3 separate regions of the Homo sapiens genome follow, and regions 1 and 2 are each linked to region 3. Evidence: promoter capture Hi-C in human tissues and cell types (Jung and others, 2019). All regions are on one chromosome and are shown on one strand. The core of a region is centred on a gene start or on the middle of the fragment in contact, and the rest is flanking DNA. Distances in the headings are between cores, read along the strand shown.

Region 1 (4,777 bases), core at 1,854-4,353, 590 kb after region 3:
ACTGAATATCTACAATCCATCCAAATTCACATGTTGAAGCCCTAACCCCCAATGTGATGGTATTTGGAAATGGTGGGGTCTTTGGGAGGTAATTAGGTTTAGATGAGGTGATGAGGGTGGGAAGAAGAAGAGACCAGAGGTCACCTTCTCTCCCTCTCCACAATTTAAGGACATGGTTAGAAGGCAGCCCTCTGCAAGACAGGAAGTGGGCCCTCAACAGGAACTGAATCAGCTGGCACCTTGATCTTGGACTTCTCAGCCTCCAGAGCTATTTGAAAATAAATTTCTGTTGTTTAAGCCACCCAGTGTATGCTATTTTGTTATGGTAGCCCAAGCAGATGAACACAGCTGGATAGAAAAAGAAACAAAGGGGGCTGGGTGCTCACGCCTGTAATCCCAGCACTTTGGGAGGCCAAGACTGGTGGATCATTTGAGGTCAGGAGTTCTAGATCAGCCTGGCCAACATGATGAAACCCCATCTCTACTAAAAATACAAAAATTAGCCAGGCATGGTGGCGCACACCTGTTATCCCAGCTACTTGGGAGGCTGAGGCAGGAGAATTGCTTGAACCTGGGAGGTGGAGGTTGCTGTGAGCTGAGATCATGCCACTGAACTCCAGCCCAGGTGACAGAGCAAGACTCTGTCTCAATTTAAAAAAAAAAAAAAAAAAGAAGAAGAGGAAGAAGGCCAGGAGGAGTGGCTTATGCCTTAATCCCAGCACTTTGGGAGGTCAAGGCGGGTGGATCACGAGGTTAGGAGTTCAATCCCAGCCTGACCAATATGGTGAAACCCCGTCTCTACTAAAAATACAAAAATTAGCCAGGCATGGTGGCATGTGCCTGTAGTCCCAGCTACTCAGGAGGCTGAGGCAGGAGAATCACTTGAACCCAGGAGGCAGAGGTTGCAGTAAGCCAAGACTGCACCACTGCACTCCAGCCTGGGCAACAGCGCCAGACTCTGTCTTGAAAGAAAGAGAAAGAAAGAAAGAAAGAAAGAGAGAGAGAGAGAGAGAAGGAAGGAAGGAAGGAAGGAAGGAAGGAAGGAAGGAAGGAAGGAAGGAAGGAAGGAGAAAAGAAAAAGAAAGAAAGAAAGAAAAAAAGAAAGAAAGAAAGAAAGAAAGAAAGAAAGAGAAAAATAAAGGGCTACCTCCTGTTGTTTTAACCAAGAACTCTTCTCCAAATCTAGGAATCGTTCCCGTACATAGTCTCTGTCTGACACCCACGCTCAGGTAGGCCTCATCAATCTTGTTTTCTGACACTGATGAGCTCTCTCGGGTTTTTAGATCCTTTCCAGGTGTACACCATTGTCTGCACTATATTTCCAGCCACTTCCTCCTTTCAGGGTTTCACCATTGCCTTTGACTTTTGCTAAAAAGTCTGAGGTTTTTTTCCACCCTGGAAATGCCTTGTCCCTTTGTCCTCTTTGTATAAACAGATGCTTCCTAATCGTCTCCCTCATCCTAGGTCTTTGCCAACAGTCACCCAATTACAGTCAGATTCCAGTAATGTCTTAGAGAGACAGTGCCTCAGTTGGAAGCTTAAATGCAGCCTTGAGCTTCTTTCCTCCATGCAAACCCGGGACTCTTCAAATTCTTCTCCGGTTATGTAACTGTAATTCCCATAAGCTTTCTCCCAAAATGTTCGTCATATAGTACCTTCAAGCGTACATAACTCTAATAACTTACGTTTGTTTAAACATGCATTAAATTGAAATAGAACTATGAGCCACCTGGGACCCAGGCATTTCATTTCAGGGTTTAGCCATTGCTTTCCTTTATGCGTAAGCAGGTAAACCTGTTGTGTCAAGAAAGAAAATGCTTGGCGAAGAACTGAAATATTCTCACCCATATTAATGACATTTCAGCAAGCTTTTCCGAACCCAACCTCTTACTCACCGTGTGAAGGACTCTCAGAGCTGTAGGAACAGCAGGGCAAAAAGCTGAGTGTTTGCCTACTTCCTCTCATGCCAAGGGGGCCGAGAGAAGGATGAAGGAGTGTGCCTGGGTTGCTCAAGGAAAAAGCAATCTGAATTTGCTGGGATTTGGAGGAGGAGCACCTTGGAGATCCGTACTTGTTCCCTACTTACACGGTTAGCTACTGCAGCCACTAGTCACATGCGGCTATTTACATTTTAATTGAATAGAATTAAGTAAAATTGAAAATGTGGTTTCTCGATCACACTAGTCACATTTGAAGTGTTCAAGTGCTACAGGTGGCTGGTGGCTAGTTTAATAGGACGGTGCAGGTACAGAACATTCCCATCATTTTGAAAAGTTCTAGTGCATCGCTCTGATCTATAATGTAAGTAATGCTTATAAGAAAGACCGATAAGCGAAATTTCTTTTTTTTTTTTTTTTTTTTGAGACCAAGTCTCACTCTGCCACCCAGGCTGGAGTGCAGTTGTGCAATCTCGGCTCACTGCAACCTCCGCCTACCAGGTTCAAGCGATTCTCCTGCCTCAGCCTCCCAAGTACCTGGGACTACAGGCGCCCACTACCACGCCTGGCTAAGTTTTGCATTTTTAGAAGACACGAGGCTTCACCCTGTTGGCCAGGCTGGTCTCAAACTCCTGACCTTAAGTGATCCACCCACGTCCGCCTCCCAAAGTGCTGAGATTACAGGTGTGAGCCACTGTGCCTGGAGAAATTTCTACTTTTAAAATGAACATTGAGAAAATATAAAGTGAACTTTGCTGACTACAGTAAGAGTAAAACAATTTTTTCAAAAGGATGATTCCTAGGTGCTTTGTCAACACAAGTCAAAGAAAGGAATGAAAGACCGAGAGAAAAAAGGAAGAATAACCAGATGGGTATCAGCACTGAAGGGGCTCACCGAAGACCAAGGGAACCCATCAATTCTAAGCGGGTAAAAAAAAAAAAAAAAAACAGTGACCCGAGGTTGACTTGTCTGAAATGCTGTCGGGAGGCAGGAAGCACTTTGTCATTTAGAAAATGTGAGCCTGCAGGCACAGGGTCACAGGCCATGCTGGCCTTTGGTGAGTCAATTTTAAAAACGTGAACATTGTGCGCATGTACCCTAAAACTTAAAGTATAATAATAATAAAATTTAAAAAAAAAGTAATATGAGGGAGGAGATTGTTCCCTTTAAATAGCCCTTAACCCCTATTTACACATCTTTCCCTTTCCTTAAGACCACACTGGGTCAGTTTTGCAATAATTTATGAGGGCACCACTGTTGGGATGGGGGTTGGGGGGACACCCAGAGGCCAAGGAACTCTTGTCCAAACCTGTCAGGAGAGAAACCCCAGGAATCTGTAATTTCCAGGAATCTTTGATATTCAGACTCCAGGGCTCAAATGTCTCCATCTGTCTGTGTTTTTAAACCACTGCTTTACTTGGTAAGACTCCACCCCTCCCTCCACTACCAAACAGTAAATGGCTAGTGTGTATTGTACTGCCATATCGATTTTTCAAGGCTCATGTATAGCAGTCCTGCAAGAGTAGCCTCCATTTCTGGAATTCTACGATATTGTGAAACACGTCTGGTTTTCATCTTGTTTCCTGGCATATAATTCCTAAAATCCTCAGAGTCTCCAAAGTGATGTCTTCTCTATGTAAATGATTTGACTGATGACTGGCAACCCCTAGATAACTTTGGGATGGGGGCTGGTCACCAGAAAGACCAAGGCGGGATTAGAGGGTTGGGACTTTCAGCCCCCTCCCCAACCTCAGCAAAGGGGAGAGGGGTTGAAGGTCAAGTTGTTCACCAATGCCCAATGATGTCATCAATCATGCCTGCGTAATGAAGCTTACATAAAAACCCGAAAGGACGGGGTTCAGAGAGCCAGCAGATAGCCAGACACACAGGGGCTTACACAACAACCATGTGCCTGGACCGTGGCGCACCCCAACTCCACGGGGACAGAAGCTCTGGGCTCAGGACTCCTCCAGACCTCCTCCTGTGTATCTCTTCATCTGAGTGTTTATTTGTATCTTTTCGTTGTTGTTGTTTGAAAGGAGTATCACTCTGTCGCCCAGGCTGGAGTGCAGTGGCTCAATCTTGGCTCACTGCAACCTCTGCCTCCTGGGGTTCAAGCGATTCTCCTGCCTCAGCCTCCCGAGTAGCTGGGATTACAAGCACCTGCCACCACACCCAGCTAATTTTTGTGTTTTCAGTAGAGACAGGGTTTCACCATGTTAGCCAGGTTAGTCTCGAACTCCTGACCTCAGGTAATCCGCCCCCCTCGGCATCCCAAAGTGCTGGGATTACAGGTGTGAGCCACCGTGCCCAGCCTCATTTGTATATCTTAAAATATCCTTTGTAATAAACTGGTAAACATAAGGATTTCCTGAAGTCTGTGAGCAGCTCCAGCAAATTAATCGAACCAAAGGAGGAGGTTGTGGGAACCCCAATTCAGAGCTGGTGAGTCACAAGCACAGGCAAAATAACCAGGGGCTTATGATTGGCATCAGAAGAGGGGGGCAGCCTTGGGGGCTGAGCCCCTGGCCCTGTGGGATGTGACGCTAGCTCCAGGTAGATGGCATTCAACTGGAGTACAGCCAGCTGGTGTCCGCTGCAGACTGATTGCTTGCTTGGAGTGTGGGGGAAACTCACACACATTTGGTCTCAGAAGTCTTCTATGTTAATTGTTGTGGAGTGAGAGAATAGAAATAACACTTTGAGCTTGTTTTTACTCAGGCTTTATAAGAGCTCTGAGGAAAATCGGCTCTGCTGACTGCTCACTCCATCCCACCTGCGTGGTGGGCTGGCAGAGGGGCAGCCTGATCCAGGGAAGCTCTGGAATTGGCATGCCCCC
Region 2 (4,104 bases), core at 405-2,904, 650 kb after region 3:
GACCACCCTGGTCAACATGGTGAAATCCTGTCTCTACCAAAAATACAAAAATTAGCGGGGCATGGTGGCACATGCCTGTAATCCCAGCTACTCAGGAGGCTGAGGCAGGAGAATCGATTGAACCCGGGAGGCGGAGGCTGCAGTGAGGCAAGATCACACCAATGCACTCCAGCCTGGGCAACAAAGGGAGACTCCATCTCAAAAACCAACCAAACAAAGAAAAAAATACACAAAGCTATTGAAAGGAGAAATAAATACATGCACAATCACATCAGGAGACATCAAATCTCCTCTCTAATTGACATAATAAGCAGGTAGAAAAAGAATAGAAATCTAGAAGACTTAAATAATACCATCAACCAACTTGATCCAAGAGACGTTAACAGAACCTAACAAGAGCGGAATATATATTATTATCCTACCTAACAAGAGCGGAATATATATTATTATCCTACCTAACAAGAGCGGAATATATATTATTATCCTACCTAACAAGAGCGGAATATATATTATTTTAAAGTGCACATGGAGCAATCATCTAGGTAGACCATGAATTGAGCCACAAAACAAGTCACAATAATTAAAAAAAAACTGAAATCATATGAAGTATGATATGTGACTATAATGGAATTCGATTAGTATAATCAATCACAGAAAGATAACAGAAATTCCCAACTATTTGGAATTTAAACAATACTTTCATAAATAAGAACTTAGGGAAAAGAAAAACTCCCAAGGGAAATTACAAAATATTTTGAACTAAATATTTAAGAAATACAACACTCCAAAATTTGAGAAGTAAATTTAAAGTTTTAAATGCTTACAATACAAAAAAAAAAAAAAAAAAAAAGGCTCGGCTGGGCGTGTTGGCTCACGCCTGAGGTCAAGAGTTCGAGACCAGTCTGGCCAACATGATGAAACCCCATCTCTACTAAACATAAAAAAAAATTAGCCGGGCATGGTGGTATGTGCCTGTAATCCCAGCTACTCAGGAAGCTGCAACAGGAGAATTGCTTGAACTAGGGAGGTGGAGGTTGCAGTGAGCCGAGATGGTGCCACTGCACTCCAGCCTGGGTGGCAGAGCGAGACTCCATCTCAAAAAAAAAAAAAAAGGCTAAAATCAATGATCTAGGCCTCCACTTTAAGAAACCGGAAAAGAGGCCGGACACAGTGGCTCACCCCTGTAATCCAAGCACTTAGGGAGGCCGAGGTGGGCAGATCACAAGGTCAGGAGTTCAAGACTAGCCTGGCCAAAATGGTGAAACCCCGTCTCTACTAAAAATACAAAAATTAGCCAGGCATGGTGGCGCACACCTGTAGTCCCAGCTACTCAGGAGGTTGAGGCAGGAAAATTGCTTGAACCCGGGAGGCAGAGGTTGTGGTGAGCCAAGATCACCCCACTGCACTCCAGCCTGGGCGACAGAGTGAGACATTGTCTCAAAAAAAAAAAAAAAAAAAAAACTTGAAAAGAGCAAATTAAATATAAAGGAAGCAGAAGAAAGGAAATAAGAGTGAAAATCAATGAACTAGAAAGTCCACAAACAATAGAGCTAATCAATGAAACCAAAAACTGTTTCTTTGGTTTTTGGAACAACAAAATAGATGAATCTCTAACCTCACTCAACAAGAAAAGAAAAAAAAGAAGATAGAAATTATCAATATCAGAAATGAAAGAGGAAATATCACTACAGACATTAAAAGGGTAATAACAGAATATCATGGAAAAACTTTATGCAATAAATTGACAACCTTTAAATGGACAATTTTCTGAAAAAAATACAAATGATCAAAACTCCCTCGAGAAACAGAAGACCTGAAGAACACTATATCAATTTTAAAAATTGATTAATATAAAACCCTCTCATAAGCAAAACTTTAGGCCCAAGTGGCTTCATTGGTGAATTCTAACAAATCTTAAGAAAGAAATAATATCAATTCCACACAGGCTATTTTAGAAAATAGAGAAGGAGGTCGGGTGTGGTGGTTCACACCTGTAATCCCAGCACTTTGGGAGGCCGAGGCAGGTGGATCACCTGAGGTCAGGAGTTCGAGACCAGCCTGGCCAACATGGTGAAACCCCATCTCTAGTAAAAATACAAAAATTAGCTGGGCATGGTGGCAGCTGCCTGTAATCCCAGCTACTTGAGAGGCTGAGGCAGGAGAATCGCTTGAACCCAGGAGGTTGCAGTGAGCCAAGATCGCACCACTGCCCTCCAGCCGGGTGACAAGAGCAAAACGCTATCTAAAAAAAAAAAAAAAAAAAATAGATAACAGGGAAGGAGAGAAGCACTTATCAAATAATTTGATGAGAGCAAGCTACCCCGACACCAAAACCATTACAAGAAAAGGAAAACAGAGACCACCAATACCACTCATGAATATAGAAGGAAATATTTTGACAGACAGAATCTTTGCAAATTGAACCCGGCAACATATAAAAAAAGTAATATCCCATAACCAAGTGGATTTTATTATAGGAATGCCAGGTTGGTTTCACATTCAAAAACCAATCACAGTAATTCATTAATATAATAGAATAGACAAAATCACATAATCATCCCAATGAATATAGCCATGGTATCTGACAACATTAACACCCATTTGTGATTTTTGTTGTTGTTGTTGTTGTTTTGTTTTTTGAGACGGAGTCTCACCCTGTTGCCCAGGCTGGAGTGCAATGGCGTGATCTCGGCTCCCTGCAACCTCTGCCTCCCAGGTTCAAGCAATTCTCCTGCCCCAGCCTCCCAAGTAGCTGGGATTACAGGTGCACAGGCGAGCGCCACCATGACCAGCTAATTTTTTGTATCTTTAATAGAGACGGGGGTTCACCACGTTGGCCAGGCTGGTCTCAAACTCCTGACCTCGTGATCCGCCCACCTCGGCCTCCCAGAGTGCTGGGATTACAGGCGTGAGCCACCACGCCTAGCCAGCATACTTCCTATTTTGTCTTGTTTTCAGTTGTGTGGGGTGTTTTTTTTTTTTTGAAATTAACAAGTTGATTTAAAAATTTATATAGAAATGCAAAGATTACAGCATAGTGAAAACAATTTTTAAAAGAACTATGTTGGAGACTTTAACTGATTTACTTGAATTACTAGAGAAATTAAGACAGTGGGCTATGTATATGCAAGAAAAGTATATAGATATATATAAAGGAACAGAGTACACATACGTGGAACTAGATCCACACATATGTGGTCAACTGATTTTCAACAAAGGAGGCAAAGTAATTCAATGGGGGAAATGATCTTTTTTTCCAACAAATAGTGCTGGAACAACTAGATATCCTAATGTAAAAAAATGAAGCTTGATATTTATCTTATCTCATACACATATATTAAATCAAAATGGATCACAGACTTAAACAAAAGTGCTAAGCTATAAAGAGTCAAGAAGAAAATAGAGGAGAACATTTCCATATCCTGGGGATAAGCAAAAATTTTTCAATATGACAGAAAAGCACAAACCATAAAAGAAAAAAGTATAAATTATATCCATCAAAATTAAAAACATCTGCTTTTCAAAAGAAAATGAAAAGGAAAGCCACAGACTGTGAGGAAATGTTTACAACACACATATCTGACAAAGGACTCATATCATTCAATAGCTTCCTATTGAAGCTTCCAAATGATCCGTTTTTTTAAAGGGCAAACGATTTGAACACTTTACTAAAGAAAGTATACATGGCCGGGTGCGGTGGCTCACGCCTGTAATCCCAGCACTTTGGGAGGCCGAGGTGGGGGGATCACAAGGTCAGGAGTTCAAGACCAGCCTGGCCAACATGGTGAAACTCTGTCTCTACTAAAAATACAAAAATAAGGTGGGCATGGTGGCATGTGCCTGTAATCCCAGCTATTCGGGAGGCTGAGGCAGGAGAATCACTGGAATCTGGGAGGCGGAGGTTGCAGTGAGCCGAGATCCAGCCACTGCACTCCAGCCTGGGTGACAGAGCAAGACCCCATCTCAAAAAAAAAAGGAAAAGAAAGTATACATATGGCCAATATACACATGGAAAATACTCAACATCAGGGCAAGGTGCCAGACTCTGGAGGAATAGTTCCTCGAGGAAGGAACTTATCTGTGTTTGGGCTTATCACAGTATTC
Region 3 (4,652 bases), core at 783-3,282:
GACAGAGAGTGAGGTATGTACAGGAAAAGTCCACATCTGAGCCACTTGAGCTCTGGGCAAAGAGTTTCAAAGAGAGGGAACAAGTACAAAAGCTCTCGGGCTTTTTTCCTCAGCTTAGAATGTCCTAGGAGCAGTACCACATAGTCTGCAACAAACCAGAATGCTCCTGGAGGCAAATAATACAAAGCTTTGATATGGAAAGACAAGTCACTATCCAGAGGTTGGTGAGCCTCATATCTGAACAAAGGGTTAACCCAGCATCAATGATTCATGGCATTAACTTAGTCTAAAACATCCAAATGCACTTCTGAGCCACACTTGCCATCCATACATCTCTGGCTAAGGCTGTAAATGGGCACTGCCAACTTCTGTTTCTTTGTTTTTAATTTGGGACTAGGATACACTGGGTGAGTCCTGGCTCCACCAGTTACTAGCTGGATAATCCTGGGAAGTTCCTCATGCTCTTTAATTGTTTGTAAAGCAAACCAGCACAGAGGGATGGTAATTTGCCCAAGGTCACACAGGCAGAAACTGAACTCAGGGCTTTTGACTGTTTCCTAACTCTTTCTGATAACTTTTTGGTTGGGACCACCATGGCAGAAAACAAAGTTGGTGGTTAGCGATTAACCAAAGAAGAGGACCAGTGTGGATAATCAGTCAGAATTAAGTCTGTATTCACTAATGAGTGTTGCCTTTTACAGATGACTTTTTGAGCATATTCCCCTCTCTTAACATTGCTGCATTAGCTCATATCTGCTAGGGGTGACACCCTCTCTCTGACCTGCCTACAACATAGACATCTCCACAGGCACAATCATCTTGTCGGGACAGAGGCTCAGCGTCAACACACGTGCTTTTTCTACTAGAAACTCTGAGACCCCAACAGGCCACAAAAGCCCACATCCTCAGATGTTCAAAACACATCTGCTTACAGAATATGAAACACAATTTTCTTAGACTAGAGGACAACCTGATGGAGAATTTCAGTAATCACCAAGTTACTTATCTAATGCGCTGGTTCATGATTTATTTGGACACATACCTAAGTATCGATGAAGTCGTATTAAAATATGTACCAGCCTGTTTTTACTTATTTTTACTTTCATTTTATTTCAGAGCATTTAATGCGGTTTACAAATCAATCACATCTTCCAAAAACACACTGTGTTGTTTTTCTCCTCAAAGCAGTTTTTCATACATTGCATCATTTTCTGTTCATAACAGTCCCAAGGACTGGATAGGGTCGGCTTTGCTGTCTCCATTTTAATGACAGGAACTTAGATGTGGAGGCCTTACGCTGTCCAGGAAGGGGTTTTACAGACGTTACTTCGTTTGGTCTTCTCCTCCCACCCTGCACGGCGCAAAGAGCCCATCAGTTTGCGGAAGTCTGGGGTGGAGGACAGTCTGGAGTGACAGGCTGCTACCAGACCAGTCGATCTGGTTCGGGCTGTGACATAAGCTAGGGGTCGAAGTCAGGGGCACCCGCACAGGCGGACCTGCCTGGCACCTAGCCAAGGCGAATCCACCTTCCCGGCCAGCCACCAGGGCCTTGAATTGGCAAAGTATCGAATCCTGTTGTGTGTGAAGCAAGCTCTTCATGCGACACCTTCAGGGCGACCTCGGGTCAAGAACTACTCATTGTGCTGCTTGGACGCGCCGGGGCCCGAGTCTTCGTGGATCGGCCAGGCCAGGAGTGAAAGGTCTGGGAGTTCTTCCGGCCAAGAGCACCCGAAGAGCCACTGGGATCAGAAATGCGCCCCGGTGGACCCCAAACCCTGCAGCCGGGGGCGGGGGGTGTCGTGGAGTGTCCGCTCGCCCCATGCCGTGACCGGGACAACCGGTACAGCAAACTCACATGGAGCCCCAAGACTCTGGATCCCCAAGACTCTGGATCCCTATCGCCCCGCCCCTTCTGCAGGCCACGCCCCTTCCGCCGGTCCCAGCCTCGCGCGGGTCGGCCCCTTCCGCCGGCCTTTCCCCGAGCCCCGCCTCTTCCGCCAGCCCCGCCTCTTCCGCCAGCCCCGCCTCTTCCTGCGCCATGTGGGCCTGAAGCGCGTGTCTGCTGTCTGTGCCAGTGCTCCTGCCGGGTCCCCTCAGGTGTGTCGTTTCCGTCGCGCTTCCGCCCTCTCGGCCATGGGGGTCCCCAAGAGGAAGGCCTCGGGCGGCCAGGACGGCGCGGCTTCCTCCGCGGGTGCAGCCAAGCGCGCCCGCAAAGAAGAGCTCACGGGCGTGCGGTTCAAGGCTCAGCTGAAGGACCCGCAGGGCCCCGGGCCAGGTGAGTCCGGGGCGGCAGGCGCAGGGTCGGGAGCACAGGCTGGCGAGGCGGCCTCCGTGTGCCGGGCACAGCCTCTCCTTTCTGCAGCTTTCGGGTCACATAGGCTCAGTGGCAAGCCTCTGGTTTGCAGAAAACTGAGGTTCAGGACTGCTGTGTACTTCCTTGCTCTGGACTGTCGGCGACAGCGAGAGGGCCCCGACTTGCTTGATTGGGACCGTTTCATGTTACAACACATTTATTTCCCTTGCCCAGGCAGCATCCCTCAGCGAGCTCTAAAACCTCTTTATTGCAGTTGTCAGGGAAGTAAATGAAGTGTCCTTCTCTATTGAGTCCTTACTGAGTCGGCTCAGGACGGTTCATGAGACAGTTTGCTACTCCTTGGGCCGTCAGCACCGTTTTCAATAGCTTCCATCCCCCAACACTCATACTGACTTGATGACTTGTAACAAGCTACTAGAAGCCACCACAGCTACTTGTCAGTTGACCAGGAATGGGCCAGTGACTGAGATGTAGCCGACTCTATAATTTAATTACACTTTTTGTAAAGTGTGACCACCCTTCGCGACTACTTGTAATCGTTTGGAAAGTAACATGGTTTGGGAAAAACGCAATTGAACGTGTTGCCATGTGGAAGCATTGCTCTAAAATAAAACAGTGGCAGTTTTTCTCCCAGGTTAAATAAACGATTAAATTAATGGCCAAAATATCTTCAACTTCCAATTTTTGTCCTCATTTTTTTTTTTAAACGACAGGGTCTTGCTCTGTTGCCCAGGCTGAAGTGCAGTGGCACTATCATAGCTCACTGCAGCCTTGAACTTCTGGGCTTAAGCTGTCCTCCCACCTCAGCCTCCCAAGTAGCTGAGATTGTAGGTGCACAACACCATGCCCAGCTATGTTTTTTTTTTTTTTTTTACTTTTTGTAGAGATGGAATCTCACTATGTTGTCCAGGCTGCCCTCGAACTCCCAGTCTCAAGCAATCTTCCCACCTTGTCTTCTCAAAGGGCTGGGAGTATAGGTATGAGCCACCACACCTGGCCTGTTTTTAAACTTTGATACCTATACCTGTACTTGCTAGTCACAGCTAGGAAGATGATACTTAGTTAGCATAGAGTTATTTATTTCCGAATTCATTAAGTATTACTAGAGGCTATTATTTGCTACGGTAGAGATAAAGTGATGAATAAAAATGTCAAAAAGCCTCTGCCATTGTGGGGTTTACAAACAGTCGAGTGGGGCAGGCAGATATTGGTCAGTAAAATCACATACATACAGTTTCAAGCACGAGTTTTCCAAAGGAGAGGTACATGGTGCCTGAGGGTGTTTAACAGACCTTGGATCTAATCTGGGAGCTCAAAGAAGGCTCCCCTGAGGAAGTGGCTTTTCTTTTCTTTTTTTTTTAATCATACTTTAAGTTTTAGGGTACATGTGCACAACGTGCCCCTTTGTTACATATGTATACATGTGCCATGTTGGTGTCCTGCACCCATTAACTCGTCATTTAACCTTAGGTATATCTCCTAATGCTGTCCCTCCCCCCTCCCCCCGACCCGACAACAGGCCCCGGTGTGTGATGTTCCCCTTCCTGTGTCCATGTGTTCTCATTGTTCAGTTCCCACCTATGAGTGAGAACATGCGGTGTTTGGTTTTTTGTCCTTGCGATAGTTTGCTGAGAATGATGGTTTCCAGCTTCATCCATGTCCCTACAAAGGACATGAACTCATCGTTTTTTATGGCTGCATAGTATTCCATGGTGTATATGTGCCACATTGTCTTAATCCAGTCTATCATTGTTGGACATTTGGGTTGGTTCCAAGTCTTTGCTATTGTGAATAGTGCCACAGTAAACGTACGTGTGCATGTGTCTTGATAGCAGTATGATTTATAATCCTTTGGGTATATACCCAGTAATGGGATGACTGGGTCAAATGGTATTTCTAGTTCTAGATCCCTGAGGAATCGCCACACTGACTTCCACAATGGTTGAACTAGTTTACAGTCCCACCAACAGTGTAAAAGTGTTCCCATTTCTCCACATCCTCTCCAGCACCTGTTGTTTCCTGACTTTTTAATGATCGCCATTCTAATTGGTGTGAGATGGTATCTCATTGTGGTTTTGATTTGCATTTCTCTGATGGATCTAATTAAACTAAAGAGCTTGTGCACAGCAAAAGAAACTACCATCAGAGTGAACAGGCGACCTACAGAATGGGAGAAAATTTTTGCAATCTACTCATCTGACAAAGGGCTAATATCCAGAATCTACAATGAACTCAAACAAATTTACAAGAAAAAAAAAAACCCCATCAAAAAGTGGGCAAAGGATATGAACAGACACTTCTCAAAAGAAGACATTTATGCAGCCAAAAGACACATGAA

Evidence for each region. The method cuts DNA at HindIII sites, captures the fragments that hold promoters and counts their contacts. A contact is called where the count stands out against the background at its distance.
Region 1: a fragment that was not itself captured here is called in contact with the fragment with the promoter of URB1 in region 3 in 2 of the 25 tissues and cell types used here (lymphoblastoid cells and mesendoderm cells).
Region 2: a fragment that was not itself captured here is called in contact with the fragment with the promoter of URB1 in region 3 in 1 of the 25 tissues and cell types used here (thymus).

The regions. Positions count from the first base shown.
Region 1 is chr21:31,800,704-31,805,480 of GRCh38, reverse strand. No RefSeq gene overlaps it. Among named protein-coding and RNA genes, the nearest start is that of HUNK, 70 kb to the left of the region's middle. RefSeq lists enhancers at 4,275-4,775, 4,776-4,777. The HindIII fragment of the contact is 3,044 bases long and covers 1,582-4,625 here.
Region 2 is chr21:31,738,049-31,742,152 of GRCh38, reverse strand. All of the region lies in intron 1 of LOC124905008 (a long non-coding RNA gene), which reads right to left. Among named protein-coding and RNA genes, the nearest start is that of SCAF4, 8.0 kb to the right of the region's middle. The HindIII fragment of the contact is 5,403 bases long and covers 1-4,104 here.
Region 3 is chr21:32,390,392-32,395,043 of GRCh38, reverse strand. URB1 (URB1 ribosome biogenesis factor) reads left to right here and starts at 2,032. Exons shown (of 39, transcript NM_014825.3): 1 at 2,032-2,275. The coding sequence starts at 2,134. URB1-AS1 (URB1 antisense RNA 1 (head to head)) reads right to left here and starts at 1,911. Exons shown (of 1, transcript NR_026845.1): 1 at 1,084-1,911. RefSeq lists enhancers at 1,430-1,679, 1,202-1,983, 1,830-2,124, 1,984-2,766. The HindIII fragment of the contact is 16,791 bases long and covers 1-4,652 here.